Linked DNA regions of Homo sapiens: region 2 is linked to region 1. Evidence: promoter capture Hi-C in human tissues and cell types (Jung and others, 2019). All regions are on one chromosome and are shown on one strand. Each heading gives the region's core, a stretch centred on a gene start or on the middle of the fragment in contact. The rest is flanking DNA. Distances are from core to core; before and after follow the strand shown.

Evidence for each region. The method cuts DNA at HindIII sites, captures the fragments that hold promoters and counts their contacts. A contact is called where the count stands out against the background at its distance.
Region 2: a contact is called between a fragment that was not itself captured here and the fragment with the promoter of ADAM12 in region 1, in 1 of the 25 tissues and cell types used here (spleen).

What each region holds. Positions count from the first base shown.
Region 1 is chr10:126,383,948-126,391,514 of GRCh38, reverse strand. ADAM12 (ADAM metallopeptidase domain 12) reads left to right here and starts at 3,038. Exons shown (of 23, transcript NM_001288973.2): 1 at 3,038-3,457. The coding sequence starts at 3,370. The HindIII fragment of the contact is 8,947 bases long and covers 1,510-7,567 here.
Region 2 is chr10:126,711,791-126,719,357 of GRCh38, reverse strand. No RefSeq gene overlaps it. Among named protein-coding and RNA genes, the nearest start is that of C10orf90, 45 kb to the right of the region's middle. The HindIII fragment of the contact is 3,528 bases long and covers 2,056-5,583 here.

The sequences.
Region 1 (7,567 bases), core at 1,789-4,288:
AGTATTGCAAAGGTCAATTCTTCCAGAAAGGAAGGGACAACCAGCCATCTATCTGAAATTTTCGTGTGTAGATCCTGGCCTCTGACCCCACACCATTACCTAACAATCCAGTATTGAATGTGATGTCGGCTTCCATTTCCTGTGAATGAGGAGGCAGAATTTCCATCCAAAGACAGACCATCTGCCAGACGCAGGATTTGCTCTTTGCCTTAGCTGGCTGTTATTGATGTCTATGAAGGCTTTGTGGAGACAGTGTCAGCCCAGGCCGCTTGCTTCACAGAGATGGTGAATTACAGGGTTGAAATCCAGAGCTTGCAGCCAGGATTTTATTTTTCTTCATTTTTCCTCTGCAATGGCTGTTTTCTTTCGTTCAGTCAGAAACAAATCAAGGACAGTCTTGGGGCACATTTAGTTCTTTGGAGGAAGCTTTGCAACATCCAGGTTTAAAAGAAATTGGACTTTTACAGTCAACATTAACAATTGAATATGAAAGAGCGAAAATAAATTGATCATTAAGAGAAAATGTATACAAGGCCCCCAGCCCAGTGCACAGCACATGTTAGGTCCATTGTGAATAAACCATTTAACCAGTCAGAAGGATCCGAGAGGCCAGTGGCTGGGCTCATCTGCAAGCAAATCTGGCCCTTTGAGCTGGAAGAAAACAATTTTTAATTCTCTTGCGTCGATGTGTCTGAAGTTCTATGGGCCACAAGTATCAGGATCACCTAAGTACTTGCTAAAACTTGTCCTTCCCAGACCTTTCTAATGAGAATCTCCAGTGCAAACGCCAGAGGAATTGAATTCTTAACAGACATCCCAGGGATCAGGTGGGTTGGGAGACATTGCATTATTTCACCTGGTGCTCACAACCACCTGGGAGGTTTGTATTTTACCTTCACTTAACAGCTGCTAAAACTGAAGGTTGGAACTCAGCCTTAAAGAAACAGGCTTTATCTTTAACAGATCTGAGGTTGGGCTCTGACCTACTTCACTGTGTGGTGGTGGGAAAGCTACATCTCTATGCTGCAGTTTCCTCATCTGTATATTCAGGACTTAAAAAATGAAATAATGCAGGTGAAAGACGTTAGCACAATACTCCGATTATACGAGGTATGTAATGAATTATGAAGTAGTAAATAGTCTGTTTTCGTGCTGCTGATAAAGACATACACAAGACTGGGTAAAATTATACAGGAAAAACGTTTAATGGACCTACATTTCCACATGGCTAGGGCAGAAGACATGAAGGGGCAAGTCATGTCTTACATGGATGGTAGCAGGCAGAAAGTGAGAGAGAGCTTGTGGAGGGGAACTCCTCTTTTTAAAACCATCAGATCTTTTGAGACTTATCCACTACCATGAGAACAGCACAGGAAAGACCTGCCCCCATGATTCAATTACCTCCCACCAGGTCCCTCCCACAACACATGGGAATTCAAGATGAGATTTGGGTGGGGACACAGCCAAACCATATCAGTAAACAAGCCTAATCATTATTAACTAGGTTAAGTAACTAGCTCACACTGTCCAATAATGATGATTTATCAGTTTGATCAGAAAGAAAAGTCTTTGAAGGCAAGAGGCTTTCTCGTTTAGTTTCCCAAGTTCTAACATAGGGTTGCTCATGTAGATTGACTGAATGAATGAACAAAAGAAGTACACTGCAACGCTGGTTGGTAGTACGGTTAGATATGACACAGGGCTTGAACCAGGCCTGGTTTCCAGATCTGGTACTGAGATATGGCAGCATTGGGAAGGGGGCTGGAGAGCCTGTGCTTCCCACTAAGGTTTTTTAAAAAGAAAGTCCTGCACCTTGTTAGGAGGATCGACCTGGGTTTTGGGAACACTGCAAAACCTGCCGTGGGAGGGAACTCCTGAGAAAACTCCTCTGCAGTGGGAAGAGATGGTATGGAAGGCAGCTTCCTCAAATGCTGGATAACCGCCTCCTAGGAGTGGGTGCTCCGTCAGGAATCGGTGCGAGGTCGCAGGACCAGGATGGAATTTCTGCAGGTGGTCCTAGGTCTGAGCAGCACAGTAGAATCACCTGAGGCTTTGAAAACTATTGAGCTCCACGCATTGTGGGAAACTGAGTTAACTGGTGTCTGGGGCTGGCAATGTCTTTAACTCTTACTATTCTAATAAGTCCCCAAGGTTGGGAATCATGGTAACCCGCAGGGTGGGCATCAGCCATCCTCCATAGCTCCAGCCATTTCTGTCTGTGCGGGCCCCCTCGCTGCTGCTTTTCATGGTCTCCCTGAGGGCCGAGCGAGGCTGAAGAGGTGGGGTCAGCCCGGAACAAGGATGAGAAGGCAAGGCGCACCATTCTTTCATTGGTGTTTCTCCAAACACCCTGGGCTCCCCTGGCCTCACAGCCTGGAGAGTCTCATTCTGAAAGCGTAGGAGGGCGCCCGGGAATCTTTTTAACAAGCCAACCCAGGTGCTTCTTACAATCAGGAAAGTTTGGGGAACGTCACTGTACACCCTTTTCTGGGTCCAGGTCATGGAATGGAAACGTGAGCCAATCTATCAACGTAAAACCTAACACTGTTGATCAAAAGTAACGCCCAGGTGTCTTGTGCCTGCGAGTCCAAGCTTGTTTCTCGGGCGAGAGATGCCCCTTTGGGCGCTTAGGGCCGGGCGGGGTCGCGCGCCGGGCTGTGGGCCGCGGTGGAGACCTGACCCGCACTCCGAGGGTTCCCAGAGAGCCGGGGAGCGAGTAGCAGAGTCATCGTTTCCAGCTTCAGCCTGAAAAGCTGGACCGTGCCGCCGCATGTGCGCTTGGCAGCCGGGCGCCCCGGGCCCTGCGGCCACATCATCCTGGGGCGGGGACGTGTGCGCTCCGGGCGCCCGGACGCCACTGAGCCACGTCTGAGCCGCCCACCCTCGGGGGTGAGCGAGCCGCGGCTCGGGGCGGGACCCTGGCGGGGGGACCCGAGCGGTCTCTAGGACCCGCGGGACGCCGCCAACTGGCGGGGGTGCGGGGGAGACAATAATTTGTTCCGCGGTAATAAGAACGGTGACTGCTGGCCGTGGATCCATTTCACAGGCCTGCCTTCTCTCACTAACGCTCTTCCTAGTCCCCGGGCCAACTCGGACAGTTTGCTCATTTATTGCAACGGTCAAGGCTGGCTTGTGCCAGAACGGCGCGCGCGCGCGCACGCACGCACACACACGGGGGGAAACTTTTTTAAAAATGAAAGGCTAGAAGAGCTCAGCGGCGGCGCGGGCGCTGCGCGAGGGCTCCGGAGCTGACTCGCCGAGGCAGGAAATCCCTCCGGTCGCGACGCCCGGCCCCGGCTCGGCGCCCGCGTGGGATGGTGCAGCGCTCGCCGCCGGGCCCGAGAGCTGCTGCACTGAAGGCCGGCGACGATGGCAGCGCGCCCGCTGCCCGTGTCCCCCGCCCGCGCCCTCCTGCTCGCCCTGGCCGGTGCTCTGCTCGCGCCCTGCGAGGCCCGAGGTAAGTCGCCGAACTAGGGCGGCTCGCTGCCCGCCCCGCCGAGGGCACCGCACGCTGCGCCTGGGCGCGCCGAGGTCCAGGGCTGCCCCGAGGGGCGACGCGCCCCGGCGCATCTCCGGAGCCCCGGGGCTTGCGCTTCCAGCGCGGCGAGACCGACCCCCCCCCCCCAGGTGCCAATTCCTTGGGGAAGGGCGACACTTGGCCCGCAGCCCCACAGGAGCCAGTACCTGCCCCGGAGGGCACAGCCTCGGGACCGCTCCCCCGTCCTCACCCTCTTGGGTGACATTTGCAGATGTCTCTGTATCTTGACATTTACACGTGTCACTCGGGACGATGCGTGTCGGGTCCTCTTGCTGGCCCTATCCCGCAGTGAATATCCCCACCCCAGGCTCCGGGCCAGCCCTTCACCAGGTTTCCTTTCCAGCCCCGCCTCCCCCGCTAACACACTTAGGGGGGCGCGCAGCGGCCCCGCAGGTGAGGCAGCCCCCTCCTCCGCAGGTGTGCCTGCTGCTCTCCACAGCAGGCTCTATTTTCATAAACTGACTCTCTTACCTACTTCTTTAGTTTCCTCTCTGCCCCTCTTCCTGGCTTCCAGGTCACTCCCTAGCTGTCAGTCGCAGGCAAACTTTAGCGGAATTCTCCCTCCTTCCTCCACTCAGTTTCTCCGCCGTAAATAATCGCCCCCATCAACTTGGTGCACAGCGAGAACTTACTTAGTTTAACGTACTTAGTTTTACAGACTTAGGTTTTCCCGAGTTGTAGCCCCTTAAAATCGGGCACCTGTGGCTCCCGTTTGCACAGTGAGGACTCACCCAGCAGGTGCCTTTTTAAAAATCCGGCAACTTCCCCGGGTCTCCGCCGCCGCCGCCTTCTTTCTGCCGCCCGGGGCGCTGTCGGTCCACCGATGAACGACTTCCCTTGGCCGCAAGCTCTCAAGTTCTGTGATTCTATATAACAGGCATTTATTTTTCAACAACTGGCCTAAATCACGAACCGTTACCACTTTATGATACGTTTTATTTTGCGATTGCCACTGCTGCCCTCCGCCCCCACCGCGTCTACTGTAATGTGGCTAAAACCCAGTTCTTGTTAAAAGCCACACTGCGAAGACCAATTCGGGGATAAATGATTAAATACAAAGATTGCACAAAGCAATGAGAAAGTCAAGAAAGAATCCTGCTGAGGGTTTAAAGAACTCTACGACCTGTAGTGAATTGTGCTTTGAAAGACTTTTAAACAAATTGGTCCTTTTGAATGTTTATTAAGAAAGAACTTTTTAAAAAACGGAAAGTGTCTCAAAGTGTGCCTGACATGGTCTTTAACTTGGCACGTGCTTTGTACACATAAAGAGAAGTCTACTGAGCAGGGACAAATTTTTTTTTTGGAAGAAAATGTTTATTAAATCCAGCTAATAATGGGAAATTATTTCTTGTGTGTGTGGGCGGGGGAGGACTTTTACTATTTTATGAGTTCAGCTTTGGTAGAGAGAGTGTTTCCTTAAGACAGATATGACCCAAAATAGAAAACCAGGGAGGCCTAAGCACTTTGAATGGGTTACCTATTGTGATATATTCCAGGATTCACTGCTTGTTTACCCTTAGATTCTCAGTATCAAGTCTTCAATCAATCAGTGCCCCAAATCATACCATTGAGGCCGTATAAAACGCCAAACATATAATGAAACATTTCTTTGCATTGGCAAGAGAAAAGGAGGAATTACTACCTGTTGAGTCTGAGCATATTCTGAGTTTCTCCCTAGCCTTGTCTGTACCCTGAGCCCTGGCACAGTTGCCTACTTGGTACTTTCTGGGGCAACTCGGCCTAACAAGTCCAAAACAGAACCCTAGATCCCAGACTCTCTAGTTGCAAATCATTCCCTCCCCAGCCTTCCTGAACCCAGTAACAACCTCCTCTGCCTTCTCCACATGCCTTGTGCTGACATGCAGGAAGTCATCCCTGTGTCCCTCTTTTTACTCCGTAAGCCACCAACCTCCTAAGTATATTCCCACCTACCCACTTCCTTACATCCCGAAGTGTGCCTTTCCCAGTCCAGGCCACATTATAGGAAAAATCTCTTCTGCAGAAGCCTCTTATCCCTCTTACCCAACGGGCCTACTGGCTTTTCACCTTATCCCTGCATGGTATATTTTCCTCCACAATAGAGCCAAAGTTATTATTTTCAAACATGAGTTAGAGCATTCAAGTTTCCTGTCTAAAACTCCCCAGTGGCTCTCTAGCACCCTTAGGAAAGAAAATCCAAACCTCAGCATGACCTAATTCCTGTTTTCCTTTCTGATCTCCTTTCTTACCATTCTCCCTTTGCTCACCCTACTCCAGACACACTGCCTTCTCTTCTTTTCAACTACCCAATATAGTAGTGCCATCATTAAAAAAAAATTCAATGTTTGCACTAAGAAGACTTTGCAAATACTTTTCACTGTTTTGCCGTGCAGTGTTTTATGGCATTTCATCCCTCTTGTAACTTTTTGCTTTTCCTAGAGTTAATGATTGCCTTGTCTTGATTTTTGTTTGCTTTATTTTCTGTGCACCAAGCTGTGATATTGTGATATAATAAGAAATATGTCTCTGCCCCTGGTTCCTGGCACAGAACTCCTAAAATCCTTGGAATCTCTGGGGTATTAAGAGTGTCTTTTGTATGCTAATGAGCTTGTTAAGGCATGATTAGAGTTGGGACTTTTAGTGCCACCTCCCTTGCAACCTCCAGGGAGGGGAGACGGATTGAAGGTTGACTTGATCGCCAATGGTGTAATTAATCATGGCTGTGTAATTAGGCCTCCATAAACCCCCCAAAGGACAAGGTTTGTAGAATTTCCAGATTGCTGAGCAAATCAAAGTTCCTGGAGGGTGGCGTATCTAGAGAGGACACAGAAGCTCTGTATCCCTTTCCACATTCTCTGCCCTTTGCATCTCTTCCAACTGTTTTTCATCTGTGTCCCTAATTACATCCTTCATTAATATAATAAACTGGTAAATATAAGCAAGTGTTTTCTGTGGTTCTGTGAGCTTACCTAGCAAATTAACTGAACCTGAGAAGGGGGTTGTGGACCCCCAACTTATAGCTAGTTGGTCAGAAGTATAGGTGTGACAACCTACTACTTGTGATTGGCATCTGACATTGGGGGGAAGTCTTGTGGGACTGAGCCCTTAACCTGTGTGATCTGATGCTTTCTCCAGGTAGATAGAGTCAGAATAGAGTTAAATTGTAGGACTCCCAGTTGATCTCTACTGAAGAACTGGTGGTTGGTGGGGAGAAACTCCCACACATTTGGGTGACCAGAGGTGAAACATTCGGTACTGAGAGTGAGAGTAGGGAGAATACTTGGTTTTTGGTTTTTCCCATCCCTTACGCAACCTCTATTTTACTTCCACACTTTCTGGAAGAACTATCAACCTCCTTTCAATATGATCCAACACATCAGGTAGTCTAGCCATGATTTTTTTTTTCCTGATGTCATCTTTCCTAGAGCCCCTCATCCTCCTGTTCCAATGTGACTCACGGGTTACTTTTTAGGCATACATTACAGCTGTTATCTCAGGACTACCCTTATTACCAAGACGCTAAGAATTCCTCTTGCATCCTTCCTGTGTTGAATCATCTGTATTCTGAGCACTGTAAATTTTTCTTAGTTCATTCCTCATTTCTGTGGAGCACGTTTTCCAGTAACTTCCTGAGGATGGGTGTTGGGAAGATACAACTTTTTTTGATAACTTGTGAATATGTCAGGGATGCTTTCAGCTGCAAATAACAAAAAAACATGACAGCAGCAATTTTTACAAGCTCGTATTCTTTACAAGCAGTTGCAAAGTAAGTATTTTGGTGGCTGGTGTAACTGGTGTGTCAGGTCACTGATGTGATCGGGGACCCAAGCACTTTCTTTTATTTCTATCTGCGATACGTAGATGTTGACTTTTGCCTTTATGCTTACTTCCTCATGGTCTCATGATAGCTGCTGTACCTCTTGGCATCATATCTGCATTCCAGGCAGTAATACAGCAGAAAGGACAAAAGGCAGAACCAGTCAAATCTATTTTCATCAGGAAAATAATATTTCCATAAGCGTTTGTAGTAGATTTTGTCTTAGATATCAT
Region 2 (7,567 bases), core at 2,570-5,069, 330 kb before region 1:
GAGGGCTAAGTGCCAAAGGCCAAGTGTGGCCGCTGTTTCAGAAGAAGGGTAGCAGAGGCAGGCAAGTAGGTAGGTGCACCTGCTGTCTTCTATGAATTTCAGGAGGGAGTCAGGATTCTTTGGCATTTAGGCTTCCGGAATGAATTCTATTAAGATATCCAGCAAGAAAGGATTTAAGATCACGGTTCAGTGTTTCTCTAAATGTGCTCCATGGATGCACGTTGCACCAGAATCTCATGTGAAGCTTGTTGAAAGTGCAGATTCCTGGGCCTCGCCCCGCTCCTTGGAATCAGAATTTCTGGGGTGTTGGCGGAGGAGCTCAGAATCTGTATTTTAGCATATTTCGTCGGTGATCTGTCTGTGAACTCAGTTGTGGCCCTAGTTTGCCCTTCAAGCCTCTTGATTTCAAAGCAATGTGTTGGCTGCTCTCTGCCTCCATGAACTTCATATTCCAGGACTCCCGAGGTGTGTAGCAAACTGCATCCAATGACGAGGAGTGTTGAAGCCTGAAATATGTATTGGGAGAGGAGAGGATCTAAAAAGGGAAGAAGCACTTCTGCAAGCAATAGGGCAGGTCTTTATGGTGGCAAAAACATTTCTCTCCATTGGTGGCAAAAGCTGAAATGTGTCATTTTTGGACTTTGGTAAAAATGGAGACTTGTCTAGTAGGCAATAAATAATAATACATAGCATTTATTGAGTGCTTAATCCTGGCATTTTATTCTGGCAACTCTGAAACATAGATGCTTGCTTCCTACCACCCCTGGGTTTATAAGGCAGGAAACAAAGGCACAGAGACACCCAGGAACTTGCCCACAGCTGGCGGTGGCAGAGCTGGAGGGAGTCCAGGTGATCTGGTGGCGGGGCCAGCCTCCTGACCCCGTTGACACAATTTTTACAGACGGTGAAAGATCTGCCAATGTGGGTACTGTGGGTGTGTTCTTGTGTTTTTGTTCAATTCCATTCTGTCCTATTACGGCCGCATTCATAAGGAATCTAGAAAGAGCCAGGCACTGGGAAAACAAAGGGGATCAAGACACTGTCCTTGCCTTCAAAGTGTTGGTTCTGGGGAGGGCTACAGAAAAACCCATAATGCTGATAGAACAATATAACACTTGGGTGCTCTCAGCCAGGGGCTCTTTCTGCATAGCCTGGAGCGATGGGTGAAACAGGAAAGGAATCAAGGAGGGCTCCAAGGTGGAGGTGACCATCAAGCTGGGCCTGAATTGGTGAATAGGTGATTAGCAGGTAGACAGATTAGAATAAGAGTGGGGAGGAAAAGCCAGACATGGAAGCCCGAGTGGCCCAGTGGGCATTGAATGGGACAGGATGGAGAATAGTTGGGTGGCAAGGGGATCAGAGATGAGGTGGGAAAGTTAGGCGGGTTACAAAAAGTCCTGGGTGCATTCCTACTCTTTGTTCGTTATCTCATGTATTAGTTTTCTATGACTGCTGTAACCAATTACCACAATTTAGTGGCTCAAGAAATACAATTTTATGATCTACCAATCTGGCTGTCAGAAGTCTGAGATGGGTTTCCTGGGGTGGAGATCAAGGTGTTGGCAGGGCTGTGTCCTTCCGGAGGCTCAAGGAGAGAATCTCTTTTCTTGCCCTACCCGGCTTCTAGAGGCTGCTGACTTCCTTGGCGGAGGGCCCCCTCCATGCTCTTCAATGCCACAACTTTGAGTTGCTTTTGGGTTGAGTCCTTTTCACACTGTCTCTCTCTGATTCTCTCTTCTACTTCTAAGGACCCTTAAGAGTACATTGGGCCACTGAAATAATGCAGGATAGTTTCCTATTTTAAGTTCAGCTGATTAGTAACATTAATTCGTCTGCAACTTCAGTTCCCCTTTGCCGTGTCACATAGGATATCCACAGGTTCTGGGGATTAGGACATGAGCAACTCTGGGGGCCATCATTCTGCCCTTGCATCTTCTAATCACTGAAGGCTTTTAAAATATGGAGCAACAGAGTCAGATCAGAGTTTCTGAAAGGTGATCTTGGGAGCAGGTTTACCAACAGAACCACAGAATTCCTTTTTCTGCCCCCATGGTAGACAAGACATCATTCATTTTTCTATATTCTTATTTTAATGTCACTTTATGACATTTTATAGAGAAATGTGGAATGGCAAATTTAGAGGTTCACATTTTGATGGTTATTCAACTGTGTTTTCTCTACATTTTATTTATATCTTGCCTCAGCCCACAGAGAGTTTGATGTAACTTCCAAAAATGCAAGAAATGCAAGCTGCAGGAAGAGCAGTTGAGGAAAACAAGAAAAGGAAAATTTTAAGAAGGAAAAAAAAATGAAGTTATAGAGGGCTAGTTCACTGCTAATGGAAGCGAGATTCATTAGTGTGGTTCCAAACTTCCTAGCTCACAAAGCAGAGAGGGAAAAAGACAGTACGATAAATACGGGTGTACAGCTGAGTTGTTTAGGAGATGCCTAGCCTTTTCTATGGCTGACACCTGAGAAGAATTTCTGCTTCAGGTGCTCACAAAGCAACAGTGTTGGCTGTTGCAAACTTTGTCCTTGAAAGCAGCTCTGCTGGAGACAGAAATGACCTTGTATAAAAGCCAGTCTCTCATTGAAGTATCCTTCAATGCTAGCAGATGACCCAATACCAAAGCATATTTCAGTGAAAGATCCCACAAAGGGGGTGGGTGGCATTGAGGGGGTAGTGGACATTTTGGTTATTGCCCCAAACTTAGTGACTTAGTATAACCAGTCCAATTTATGATCTCTACCAATTCTGTGGGTTGGACTGGGCTCAGCCAGGCAGTGGCGAGGTGGTGTCATCCATGGGCTCAACTGGATGTGGAGCATGCAGCATGGCTCCCTCCCACACCACTGTCAGCTGTGGGCTGGGGTTCCATGCCTTGATTCTCATCACACAGCAGCAGGGTTCCAAGAGGACCATCCTCTTGGATGTGAAGGGAAAGGCATAGGTGTTTTAAGGCTCAGCCTCAGAAATTTTACATCATTTCCACCACATTCCATTGGTAAGAACACATTGTGAGGTTAGTCCAGATTCAAGAGAATGGTGAAATGGCGTTGTTGTCTGGGGTAAATACCTGAGATTCGTTGCCTCGCACCATGGAAAAGTAGGACATGGACACACAAAGGGTGAGGCTCAGAGTGGAAGTTTAATAGGCAAAGAGAAGAGCAGGGCTCTCTGTAGCAGAGAAGGGTCCCAGAAAAATGGGTTGCTGCTTCCGTGGTGAAATGCAGCAAGTTTTATAGATTAGCTTGAGGAGGTGGTGTCTGATTTACATAGGGCATGAAAGATTGTTTGGACAAGGTGTGCCATTTGCATAAGGCGCAAAAAATTGGTTAGAACTAGGTGTGTCATTTGCATAGTGCGTGAAAATCTGGCTACCCCACCCTAATCTTTTATTATGCACATGGATTCTCTACCTGGCTGGCACCATGTTGCCTATTCTCTTACTTTACACATGGTTACAAAGAAAAGGGAAGATGGAGCCTCCATGTTGAACATACCTGGTCCCCAGGTAGCCCTTTTCTATTGGCACAGCTGCCAGCATTCACCTGTGCAAACTTCCAGTTTGCTTGTCTATGTCTGCAGCTTGATTTTTCAGGCTGCTCTTTGTTAGAAAAGAAATGATTTTGGGGGCTGCTTTTCGTTAAAAGGGAAATTTCGCCAAGGACTCTATTGCCCTTCCTATCTGCCTAAATAATTACTTTCTAGCTCCTATATCAATGGGAAATTGACTCCACCTCTTGACAGGAGAAATAGAAAAGAATAGGTGGCTGCCATGAATCCATCACAGGAGGCAGGACAATGGCCAAGTGTGCAGCTCCCTGACAAGCTGGCATGATCCAGGGGTAAAATTGGGAAAAGCTTGAGAACTGGATAGGCAGCCTTGGTGTATCTTTTCAGCAATCCCCGTAAGCATCAGCCACTGCAAATGGTCCTCTTGATAGAGATCAGTGAGTGGAGAGGGCAAGGTTTGTTTCCTGCCCAGGATATGGTGGATGTTATTTTATACTGCAAATTAAGGGAAGAGTTGTATATTTCAAGAGCCAAGCTGAAGACGAGTTTTCTTCTATTCTGTATTTTGTATTATTCAATAACGAATTTCAGTTTAGTGGGCCATAGGATGTTCCCAATCTAACAAAACTGGCTCTGGTTAATCATGGACTTGCCTAGCGATATCTGTGGTGTCTCTGCATGGGGTTAACTTGGCTAAACTGAAGTTATGTTTTTTAGACTCTTCCTTCCTGTATGGCCCCAAGTGAAAGTTGGTGAAGAGATACTTCTGTGAGATCTGAAGGTTATAATGAGAAGTCTGTCTCCATGTTTTGATGTGTCTCCATGTTTTGATGTTTGACTGCTGACAGCTCTAAGCCTCGTTCCTCCCTCTTCTTTTTGATCCCCGTAGCTGGACAAGCTGATGGAAAAGCCCACTTCTCTTTCCCTTTAGTGCAGGAAATTCAAACCACACAAGCCTTTGCCTGTGCTATAAAAGGAGCTCCCCGCTGGCCCCACCCCCTAACCACATAAAACCCCCGATCGGGGAAGAGGTTCCCCGATCCCTCAAGCCATGTCAGGCCTGCTGGGGAGGCCTGCCTACTCCCCCCAGAGAGCTCAATTATGTGAGCAATAAACTTTTTCATACCAGCTTGTTGTGTGTGCATCATCAGTCTCCACATTGGAACCAAGCTTTGAGTGGGGGTCTGTCTCTCTTGGCGGGCAGCTGTGACAGAGATGGAAATGAAGCTGCCAGTAGGACTCTTTAAAGACTGTCCTGGTTAGAGGCTGTGAGGTTCCAGCAGAGTTCAGCTGATTTCTGCCCTCCTCTGCTCTGTATCAAGCTCTTGACTGGTGGCCCTACTGATGGATGCAAACTCAGTGCAAAGGCTGCAGCTTTCCGTGACCTTCTCTGCACACTCTGGAGTTTTTCTTAGGAGCTGGGGAATGACTCTTCTCTGATCTACCAACTTCCCCTCGGAACTTTATTTCTTCAGCTTTTCTCACAATTGTGTAAAGCCTCATCCTATAAATCCCTTAATCCAAAATACTCAAAATGTTTCTGCTCCTTTGATTAAAACTTGACTGATAAAATAACTCTTCAGGCATTACTTTTTTTTTTTTTTTTTTTTGAGACAGAGTCTCGCTCTGTTACCCAGGCTGGAGTGCAGTGATGTGATCTCGGCTCACTGCAACCTCCTCCTCCTGGGTTCAAGCAATTCTTCTGCCTCAGCCTCCCAAGTAGCTGGGACTACAGGTGCCTGCCACCACGCCCGGCTGATTTTTGTATTTTTAGTAGAGATGGGGTTTCACCATGTTGGCCAGGCTTGTCTTGAATTCCTGACCTCAAATAATCCACTTGTCTTGGCCTCCCGAAGTGCTAGGATTACAGACGTGAGCCACTGTGCCCGGCCTCAGACACTACTTTTAAGATTGGCTACAGACAGCACCAGTGTGTGCTTGATGGAACTGAATTGGAGTCCAGAGAGGTAAAGTAAGAAGTCCCGGACCACATGGAGAACATTGGCCAGTAAACTCCAGGTCTTCTGACTCAGCTTTCTTCCACACCACACTGGGTGTCTCGTGGATGCCTCGTGTGTGCCAGATGCTGTGAGAGGATTTATGTAGGATTCCAAAAGGAAGACATATTCCCTGATTTCCAAAAGCTCACCCCTCTGTTGCATTATTGCATATGGTTAGTAGATGAAAATGACAACTATTACTGCACACGTGCATGCACCCCCCCACACACACACAGACACCACTTCTCAGTTTACTAACATTTGTCACACCCAGTATCTCAGTATGTCACAGGCTAAGTGACCAGAGAATGGATAATTGATATTATGGCGGACCAGGAAGTGGTACATTCTTACTCAGTGGGTTAATGTGCAGGGGTTAGGAAGGGAATGTTAGTGTGTGACCTGCCTTTAATTATTCTCCTGGGCTTATGCACTGGGTGTATTATAACCAGTTAGTATTCAGTTCCCTAGATCATCCTGAGCAACCAGCCATGTGCAGGGTACCATGTTTCACTGGTGGAAGTGAGCTTAGAGCAATGATCCCCAACCTTTTTGGCACCAGGGACTGGTTTCATGGAAGACAATTTTTCCATGGATCAGGGTAGGGGGATGGTTTTGGGATGATTCAAATGCATTACACTTATTGTGTACTTTATTTATATCATTATTACATTGTAATATATAATGAAATAATTCTACAACTGATCATAATATAGAATCAGTGGAAACCCTGAGCGTGTTTTCCTGCAACTAGATTGTCCCACCTCGAGGTGATAGGAGACAGTGACAGATCATCAGGCATTAGATTCTTATAAGGAGAGGGCAGCCTAGATCCCCTGCATGCTCAGTTAACAGTAGGGTTTGTGCTCCTATGAGAATCTAATGCCACTGCTGATTTGACAGGAGGCGGAGCTCAGGTGGTAATGTGAGCGACAGGGAGTGACCGCAAATGCAGATAAAGCTTTGTTCACTTACCCACCACTCACCTCCTGCTGTGCGGCCTGGTTCCTAATGGGCCACAAACTGGTACTGGTCCGTGGCTGGGGAGTCAGGGACTCATGGCTTAGAGGATGAGACTGGCAGTCTGAATCATGTTTTTGAGGGAAGCTCTTGTTCCTTCCAGTGATGACAAGTTCTCTGGTAACTCTTTAGTTTGAATAATTTCAGACTTTAAAGTAAAAGAAAACGATACAAAAATTATCCAATACCTCCTTACCCAGATTCACCAATTGTTTACATTTTATTCTCATTTGATTTATCATTACCTATCTATTAACAATATTTTTCTGAGCCATATGAAAGTAAGTTGGAGACATCACTCCCTTTTACCCCTAAATTCTTCAGTGTGTATTTTCTAAGAGCAAGACATTCTCTTACATTATCACAGTACTATTAACAAATTCAGGACACTTGCCATTGATATAATACTATTATCTAAACCACAGTCCATATTTATCATTCCTTCAATGTCCTTTGTAGTTTTTTCCCCAAGGCCTGGACCCAGTTCTGGACCACTCTTGCATTCAGTTTTCATGTCTCTTTAGTCTCCCTTAATCTGAAGCAGTCTCTTGTCCTTTTTATCATTTCCTTGACCTTAGATATTTTCAAGTTATTTTATGGACTTTCTCAGTTGAGGTTTGTTTGATGTTTTCCCACGTTCATATTCAGATTCAGCAGTTTTAGCAGAAATACACAAGAAACAGTACTCTGTCTTTCATAGCACATAATATCAGAAGGCATGTGATATTTGTTTGTCTCAATATGTGCGACGTTAAGTTTGATCACTTGGCAAAGGTAGAATCTGCCAACTTTCTCTATGTAAACTTACCATTTTCCTTTGAAATTAATAGGCAATGTAAAGGGAGATACCTTGAGACTATGTAAATATCCTGTACCACCTGCAACTTTTATCCACTAGTTTTAGCACTCATTGATGATTTTCTAACCCCCCTAAGGCCTTTATATTTATTAGTTGGCACTTGGCAGAAGGGAAAAGCTTTTCTTTTTTTCCTTGCTTACTGTATGTATTCATCTACTTGTTTACGGACTC